3 separate regions of the Homo sapiens genome follow, and all the other regions are linked to region 3. The links are contacts of gene promoters, found by promoter capture Hi-C in blood cells and fetal thymus (Javierre and others, 2016). All regions are on one chromosome and are shown on one strand. The core of a region is centred on a gene start or on the middle of the fragment in contact, and the rest is flanking DNA. Distances in the headings are between cores, read along the strand shown. Region 1 has its middle 51 kb from the start of EMC2. Region 2 has its middle 270 kb from the start of RSPO2. Region 3 holds the start of RSPO2 (R-spondin 2).

Evidence for each region. Contacts are between HindIII fragments. The CHiCAGO score rates a contact against its expected background, and 5 or more counts as called.
Region 1: a contact is called between a fragment that was not itself captured here and the fragment with the promoter of RSPO2 in region 3, in 3 of 17 cell types (M0 macrophages, megakaryocytes and M2 macrophages). The highest score is 6.6, in M0 macrophages.
Region 2: a contact is called between a fragment that was not itself captured here and the fragment with the promoter of RSPO2 in region 3, in 3 of 17 cell types (megakaryocytes, M1 macrophages and M2 macrophages). The highest score is 9.0, in megakaryocytes.

The regions. Positions count from the first base shown.
Region 1 is chr8:108,493,534-108,496,646 of GRCh38, forward strand. No RefSeq gene overlaps it. Among named protein-coding and RNA genes, the nearest start is that of EMC2, 51 kb to the left of the region's middle. The HindIII fragment of the contact is 3,322 bases long and covers 1-3,113 here.
Region 2 is chr8:107,811,770-107,814,842 of GRCh38, forward strand. No RefSeq gene overlaps it. Among named protein-coding and RNA genes, the nearest start is that of RSPO2, 270 kb to the right of the region's middle. The HindIII fragment of the contact is 1,152 bases long and covers 745-1,896 here.
Region 3 is chr8:108,082,120-108,085,219 of GRCh38, forward strand. RSPO2 (R-spondin 2) reads right to left here and starts at 1,501. Exons shown (of 6, transcript NM_178565.5): 1 at 1,078-1,501; 2 at 426-688. The coding sequence starts at 519. RefSeq lists an enhancer at 1-640 and a silencer at 357-532. The HindIII fragment of the contact is 4,613 bases long and covers 1-3,011 here.

The DNA.
Region 1 (3,113 bases), core at 282-2,781, 410 kb after region 3:
GGTTTCAAATAGACTGTATTTTGAAAACAATGATTGAAAGAAGCAAATGATTTCATGGAGATCTGCATGTTACTTTGTTTCTTACATTGTGATTGTGTGTGGCATTTTTTAAGTTATCCCCTCTTCTGATTTATATGTTTTCCCCCATCTCCTATTCTATTTTTTTGGTGGGGAGCAACAATATTCTCCCTAGATGCTATAGTAAAGAACTGAATTACCCATGTTTGTTTTGTATATTGAATATCTTTCTCTTAATAATTTTAAAATTAGTACAGAGAATTATACTATTATTTTCTTTCTCAGAAGCCAAGGTGAATTCACTTGATTTATATTGACTGCTTTCAACAGCTTTTTAAAAAAACTTATAATTCTTAAGGGAGTGAATATGGGCCAGTGGTTTGTTTGCTTGTTTTGTTTTGTTGTTGTTGTTGAGACTGAGTCTAGCTTTGTCACCCAGGTTGGAGTGTAAGTGGTGTGATCTCACCTCACTGCAACCTCCGCCTCCCAGGTTCAAGCGATTCTCCTGCCTCAGCCTCCTAAGTAGCTGGGATTACAGGCACCCGTCACCACACCCAGCTAATTTTTGTATTTTTAGTAGAGATGGGGTTTCACCATGTCGGTCAGGCTGGTTTTGAACACCTGACCTCACATGATCCACCTGCCTCGGCCTCCCAAAGTGCTGGGATTACAGGTGTGAGGCACTGCACCCTGCTGGGCCTGTGGTCTTTAGAAAAAGAATTATTTCTTTATACACATATGTTCATATATGCATCTCTCTATGTATATATGCATATTTGTATTTATTTAAGAACCCAATTGTAATAACCACAGTGGATACAGAAAGTATGAACTTTGTATTATAGTGAGCATAGTAGAAGACAAGAATAATGTAAATACTTTTATTTACTTATTTTTTAAATTATACTTTAAGTACTAGGGTACATGTGCACAACGTGCAGGTTTGTTACATATGTATACATGTGCCATGTTGGTGTGCAGCACCCATTAACTCATCATTTACATTAGGTATTTCTCTTAATGCTATCCCTCCCTGCTCCCCCACACCCCATGACAGGCCCTAGTGTGTGATGTTCCCCGCCCTGTGTCCAAGTGTTTTCATTGTTCAGTTCCCACCTATGAGTGAGAACTTGTGGTGTTTGGTTTTCTGTCCTTGCAATAGTTTGCTCAGAATAATGGTTTCCAGCTTCATCCATGTCCCAACAAAGGACATGAACTCATCTTTTTTTATGGCTGCATAGTATTCCATGGTGTATATGTGCTACATTTTCTTCAGTCTATCACTGATGGACATTTGGGTTGGTTCCAAGTCTTTGCTATTGTGAATAGTGCCACAATAAACATACGTGTACATGTGTCTTAATGTAAAGACTTTTATACAAATTGTTTTTTAATATAAAAAACTGATTAATAATTAGATTTGGATGCCAATAAAAGTTAAATTAGAAGCATATTTCTATAAACCACTTGCAGCCACAAATAAATAGGTGAATTCCAATAGGGTCATTACATCTCTACTACTCCATATAATAATATGTAAACATCACAAGTAATACGATTTGTATTCAAATCATTAGAACCCTGAAGAATGTTTTCAGCTCAACAAACTGCTGCCACCAGCAATAAACTTGGAGACATTAATCTTGCAAATAAGTCACTACTGGGGAAACATCTACCTGCAATAGACCAAGTAATGGTGAGTATTTCCAAACAGAATGGATTCATAACTGAAGAAATCTGAGCTCGTGCATAACTAATTTGAGAGATATAATTAGGCAACTTAAATATTACATGAAAACATGGGTAAGAATTATGTGAAAATGTATGCATATCATCTTTTGAAAACCCTAGGTAAAAATGTGTACTATCAACATCATATCTGTTTGAAATGAAATTGGAGGTCTCCAGAGTGGTAACAATAGCCAGTGATTTCAAGAGTTGTACTCAAATGACAGCTGATTTTGGATTTAGTTTCACTATACTGATCTATCTGTCATACATAGTATGCCAGAGAACATAGGAGACAACACAGCCCCATTGGCTGGCAGTTTTCTAATAGCCCACCTACTCTGACCAAAACCAAACTGCACAGATAAATATGTCTCTAGTTCTTATGAGAGGAATAAAAATTGGTTAGTTCCAAATAGAGGCATTGGGAAAGACTGTATAAGAATGTCTTACTAAAACAAACTTCAAATAGCACCACTGATACGATGATTTAAGAAGAGTAATAGCAGTTGGGACATAGACATGGTACCAAACAAATGGTTGCCTCTTAAGTGGTACCCAGGAGTCAGAGCTGTACTTAGAAACAGGCCCTGTGGTATCAGCTGGCTCCGGGGAGAGTAATCTGATGGTCACCTGGCAGATTTAACGTTGCTATCTTTTTATGTATGCAGAATTGTTCTCAAATATTAAGGGCAATGAAATACATATATTTGGAAAGGACTTCAATGCCTACACAAACACAGTCTTTCAAATACTAGAAAGAGAAGGAATTTCTGAAAATACAAATGTTAAAGATGTAAAAATAGTTTAAAACAATATTCTTTTTATTTGGGGTGTATACTGCTAAATATTTCATTGTTTTACTTTATTATTCTCTAAATAATAAAGATTTCCCCACAAGGAAATATTTACTAGTCTAAAAAGACTCATAATGAGGTATTTTGTGGCTTAAATTATGGCCTAATTTTGTTTAATGGCTTTGAATTTGTACTTAATTTTTTCTTTTTATCTTTTTTTTTTTCTTTTTTTTTGAGTCTTGCTCTGTCGCCCAAGCTGGAGTACAGTGGCACGATCTGGGCTCACTGCAACCTCCGCCTCCCAGGTTCAGGTGATTCTCCCACCTCAGCCTCCCAAGTAGTAGCTGGGGTTACAGGCATGCACTACCACACCTGGCTAATTTTTAAATTTTTAGTAGAGAGGGGGTTTCACCATGTTGGCCAGGCTGGTCTCAAACACCTGACCTCAGGTAATCTGCTTGCCTCAGCCTCCCAGAGTGCTGGGATTACAGGGGTGAGCCACCATGCCCGGCCATGAGTTTGTACTTAATTTTTTCTATTAACAAACCTCAAATGTCAGTGGACAAATTT
Region 2 (3,073 bases), core at 71-2,570, 270 kb before region 3:
AAAAAGAAAGAAAAGAAAAAAAGAAAAGAAAGGAAGGAAACAGATTCCACAGTGCTCAGTGACTTGCCACAAATTAAGTTAGCTGGGAAATGGTGGAACAAAAGTTCTAATCTGCCTTTCAGTTGCTCATTTAGTTTCAAACTCTCATCTCCTGCCCCTGCCCTGCTCCCATCTCCTGCAAAGTCTGTAATGGAGCTTCTTTATTGTTGTAAACCAGGTGGCTCTTTTTCCCATTTGAGTCCTTGATCCAAATCAAAGGACTGGTACTGAGAACACATTTTGAGGATTTAAACATAGATTTCCTCCCTCCCTCATACACTGTGCTGCCATGGGCAATTCCCATTGGCACAGCCAGGACCTACAGTGTTGGAATAAACAGGGGGCATGACTGTGGACTCTAGTCTTTCTTGAAACTTTTTCCTCTCTTGTTTAGAATGAAATGTCTTTGACCATCAAACGCTAATCACTCTTCAGGCTACAGTGCTTATTGTAGAGGCTTCCCAAGGAGAATCTCATAGATACATGATAGTAAGCCAAGAATTTACATTACAAAAGGTTGTTTAGGCAGGATTAGAAATTAATGGCAAAACATAGGCAAAACTATCATCATAACAACTCCTATTTATTGTTTACTGTGTGCAAGACACTGTACTAAGACTAAGCTATGCGTAAATTATTTAATCCTCCCAAGTTTTTTATGAGGCAAGTACAATTTTTTTGTTATTTGACAGATAAAGGAAATGAAGCTTAAAGGGGTTAAATCACTTTAAAAAAGGCAACACAACTAGTAAGTATCAGAACTAGAATATAGGCCAGGTGTGGTGGCTCATGCCTGTAATTCCACCACTTTGGGAGGCCAAGGTAGGAGGATCTCTTGAGCCCAGGAGCTCAAGACCAGCCTGGGCAACAAAACAAGACCTCATTTTTTTTTTAAGTAAAAATAAAAGAACTGGAATATAAATCTGTCTATTCCCTCCAAGGCACGCTCTTAACTACTAAACTAAATCCTGTGCATTCACCATTTTCTCCAAAGGTAGTCTGGAAGTAGACTGTGTTCTTCTCAGATTATCGCTTAAACCGTTCAACACAAGGGCTTCCCCCTCATTTGTTTGACCATCAGCATATACTGACTGCTAAGTGTGAATTGTCATTCACTTGTTCCTGGCAGTACAAATGTTGCACTAAGCAGTCCTAAAGAGACTTGATGCTGAGTAGAACAAAGAATAAAAGTTTCCTGAATATTTTGTTTAAATTGTAAGCTAACTCAATAATGACCAGACGTGTCTCACATGAGGCAACAGGAAGTTGAACCATAGATTGTTTTTAATGATGCAAAAATGTCAAGTAATATCTCCTTCACTGAGGAATACAAAGGAAGAAAGAAAAGCTAGATAAATTATAGGGAAAATGATCTACACCATTTGACATAATTAAATAAGAGTTAGGTTGGTTTTAGCACATAATAATAAAATAAACCTACCGGAATGACTAGATTGGAAAAACCTATTGGATTTCAGTTTATATAAACTCTATATGGAAGAGAAATACCAAGGAAAGTGATGTTTAAATGTTAAGAAAAATAATGAGTGAAAATTTATAATTCTTTTTATTTTACTCTCTTAAACTTGCCTAGCTCTGTCATAATCTGAAATTTCAACCCCAAAGCTAAGCCACCATGTATTCTCTTTGGAGTAAGACAGCATATAAAGAAAACAAACAGAATCTCTTACATTTTACAAAGTTGAATGTCTCAGGTTTTCAACAAAGTATATAGAAATCTATGTTTGGGTTTAAGTTTTTGCCTTATACTATGACCAGCCACTAGATGGCAAAGTATGACATGAAATGTAGGCTGCAGACCAAGTTAAGAGTCTGACTTGGAATGGAAGCAGAGGAAGCTTGAGTTAGTGAAAACCTTTAGTTGTACTACATGAATAAAGGGATGTAGTGTAGTGTAGTCGTTCTTAAGTTGCATGCGTTACTTTTAAAAAACATTTACTGATTCACTCAAATTCACGTCTAGAAGTCCTAAGACTAAGACTCAGTTGACTACAAGGCTTTGTTCCCTAGCCCACTTCTTATTGCCTGTCACTTCCTGTCCCTGCCTGTCTTCCTTCCAAGAACCCAGTTCTAGCCACTGCTTCACAATATCTCTCAATGTCAACCACCAGTGTTCTAATTATTATTATCTCTTGCCACTTTCTCCATCATTCTTCACTTCCTTTCAGGATCCTTCATTACTACATCCTTGTGTAGCCACTGATGCATATTTGCCTGAACTGAGCCTTGTTGTGGTTGTTGCTGTTTGGAAGCAGAGCAATTTGCTGGCTGATATGATAAGGCCTTGTGTCCCCACCCAAATCTCATCTTGAATTTTAATCTCCACATGTAAGGGAGGGACCTGTAATCCCTACGTGTAAGGGAGGGAGGTGATTGGACCATGGGGGTGGTTTCCTCCATGCTGTTCTCATGATAGTGAGTGAGTTCTCACAAGATCTGATGGTTTTGTAAGTGTTTGGAATTTCCTCCTTTGCTCTTCTTTTTCCTGCCGCCTTGTGAAGAAGGTGCCTGCTTCCCTTCTGCCATGACTGTGAGTTTCCTGAGGCCTCCCAAGCCATGCAGAATTGTGTGTCGATTAAAACTCTTTTCTTTATAAATTACCCAGTCTCAGGCAGTTCTTTATAGCAGTGTGAAAATGAACTAAATACACTGGCCTAATGAACTCATTTCTCAGCAGAACACCTAGTAGGATGCTCTATCTAAGCTCTAGCTTGAGCCAAAATGAGCCCCAAGATATGAGAGGAATGTTTCTTTAAAAATGGGTGTGATGGTTAATTTTATGTGTCAGCTTGACTGGGTGAAGTGATACCCAGAAAGCTGGTATGCATTATTTCTGAGCGTATCTATGAGGGTATTTCCAGAAGAGATCAGCATTTGAATTGGTAAACCAAGCGAAGAAGATCCACCCTCACCAATGTGGACAGACACCATCCAATCCATTGAGGGCCCAAACAGAACAAAAAGGCAGAGGAGGTGCGAATTTTCTCCCTCTTCTTGAACTTGGGCAGTCATT
Region 3 (3,100 bases), core at 251-2,750:
TGGATGGGGAAGATAAAACAAATGAGCTACAGGGAAGATGGTTAGGAGGACAGAGAGAAGAACAACGACGACAAAAAAAAAATGCATGTCAGATAAGAAATACGTCCTAAAGAGACAAGTTTAGATGAGGAGGTGGGGCGGCGAACATGAGTGCGGACCGCACGACTTAGCCCTGAGCGCCCGATTGGCGCCCGGCTCGCCGAGCTCCCAGCGCGTCTCGCTCCGGCTCCCCGCGCCTCCAGGGTACAGAAAACAGAGTGTTTTGTAGAGCTCCAGGGTCCTAAAGGTGGGGACTGGGGACCCGCAAAAGCTGGGGTGGAGAGCACAGCCCTGACCATCTGAGCCCCCGGAGCCAGGGCGTGAGTGAGCGCCTCCACACGCCACCCCTGAAGCCCACCACGCACCTTTGGCAGAGAGGGACCCACCTCGCTTACTGCGTCTCCATCGGTTGCCTTGGCAGTGGCTGTAATCCATGCAGTTCAGAATGATGAGGGCAAAGGAGAAAAGGCGAAACTGCATCTGGGCGGTCGGGCGGGGGAGAGACGCCTCTCAAAGTCTAGGAACTGGAGGGTTCGCCCAAAGAGCCGGCGCCGGCCGCGCTGCTGGGGAGGACTCAGAGGGAGACTCGCCACTCACCCCCGGGCCGCACCGGTCAGTTCAGCGCGATCAGCATCTCTCCGCCACGAACCTGAGAGACAAGAAGCGAAAACAGGGTGTGTGGGGGATGGAGAGAGCCCCGGGGAGGCAGCTGCGCCTTCGCACGTCCCAATTTAAAGAAGAGAGGGAAGGAGGAAGCGAACCCACTGCCTAGCACGAGCCGCGGAGCGGCTTAATCCAGAGCGGGCAGCTGCGGACGAGTTGGAGAGGAAGGTGATTATAATCAGTGAATTAGCAACCTCTGCCGAGCCCTAAGCTCCGACCCAGCGGCATAATGCGTTGTGCCGGCGCTCCGGGGAAAGGAAAGAACTCTAAAGGCACTGAGAGCGCAGGGCTAAAAGAACGCTCTTAGGCCATTTGGAGTCCACGGCGGTGTACCCAAGCGCCGCAGCTGCGGCTGCCTTGGTGTGGGTTGCCTACCGTGCGCACGTCTCGGGCGGCGCGGCCTCCCTAGGCGCGGTGCTCCATCCCGGGCTCGGGAAGCGAGCCGCTTGGTTAGCACGTGGGCTGGGGAAAAGTTTGCCGAGACCGGCTGGGAGCGCCTGGCAGCTCTGGAATTCCAGCGGCCGCCGCGGGGTTGGCGACGCCAGGCAGGAGCGCGGAGCGGCGGGTGCAGCCACTGGGATGCTCCGTCCCCGCCCGCGAGCGCGGTCCCCAGGCAAGGGGTGCGCCCGCTCACACTCTCTGCCTCCCTAACCAATTGTGTCGCTTCCTGCGCTTTCTCCACGGTCACTTCACAGCTAAGATTTCTTTCTTTCCGAGCTGTAGAAGGCAGAACGCTCTCGGGAGGACGAAGTGATCCGAAGGGATGTGGCAAGCGCACTTTCCGATGGAGATGCAGACCGGCTGAGGCTTGGGATGCTTCTATAAGTAGGTGGTGCTGTGGTCCAAGGCATCTAAGTCTAGGCTGCCTCGGAGTTCCTGGGTCCTAAAGCCAGAAACGTCCCGGTTTCCCTGAGGTCCTAAAGAACGTTGACAGCCAACAGCGCGCCTAACTTGGAGCGAATCCTCTTCGGGCTTTCCAGAGTGCGGGGGATAGATAAAGAGTAGCTGGGGAGACGCCCCCTGACCTTGCTGGGTCCCAGAACCCGGCTGCTCACCCCCAAGGGGTCCTCTCCAGCCCTCTAGGGTCAGTTCCAACCTCAGCGCCAACCTTTCTGCAGGGAGATCTGACTGAAGGACTGATGACTCCCTTTAAACTTTTGCAATATGCCACAACTCTGCCACTTTTTAATTTACATCTTGTCTGTGTTTTGCAGGAAGGTATGTTAGCCGGCTGAAATTATTCATAAAACGCGCCCCCACTTTGAGGAGTGAAATGGGTATTCCCAACAGCTTTTGTTCATCCTCAGAACTGTTATTTACTTTGTTTCTTCTCCAATAAAACAAAAACCTGTGATCCGTTGCCTGAAGTGCTGAAGAAGTTGGGGCCTTGATTCTTTAAAAATAATTTTAAAAAGTTCACTTCCCACTAAAGTATTTTTCATTCTTAATCCTCCTCTCATTTCCAAAGTCTCCTGAATTAAACTTTTAGGTGCTTTGGGTTTGGGGAAAATATTCTGTTTAACAAAGTGTTACATTAAATAGACTTGATGCCATCCAATTTCATTCTGGTGAAATCTGTCCTGCATTCACTACTGTAGGAAAAAATGTATTTATTCCTTAAGCAAAAGATAAGAATTTATGCCACTAACCGTGGCAGTATGAATGTCTATAGATATGCCCGCAGTTACCATATTATTATGATAGCATTTTATACTATTTAAATTCCCTTTTCTATTCCTTCAGTTTCAGAAGATGTTCAGAAATTTGATGACTTAAAAGACAATCATATAAAAAGAATATTGCAATACTCATATTTATTAACTATTCCATTATTGCCTATTCATAACTATTTTACAGACTCACTATTACATAGTGGTATTTATGTGCTAAGAATTTCAGCAGTATGCCTTTGATGCATGCCTGAGAACACCCAAGTAAATCTGAGTTGAGGTCATTGGTCCCATTTCATAGATAAGAAAATCCATCACTGAGACTGGCCCACAGGGCACAAATAGAGTTCACAAAACACATTGCAGAAACAGTGGATCTGTTTCTTGACTTTTGAGCCTTTGATTTTTATCACAGAATTTGGAAACATTTCAGTGTAGGGAGTGGCCCCAGTGTTTGGCATAACTTGATATTTCTTGATCATCTTGATATGATGCTGAATATCTCTTCAGCACCATAAATACTACTTCTTTCCAAATATAGTCATATATGCACACAACAAATGAATTATACTTATAAAGGAGTTAAATCTATGGGAGAAAGGAAGTCTTCCCTAAGTAAGCCCCCCTGCCTCCTTGCAAAGCTTTGAGATCCATTCAAGATCAGTGGTCATCAGTGTCTTTTAAAATATTTAAAGGCAAAAGTAAACACAAGACCAAGCAGAGGTAGC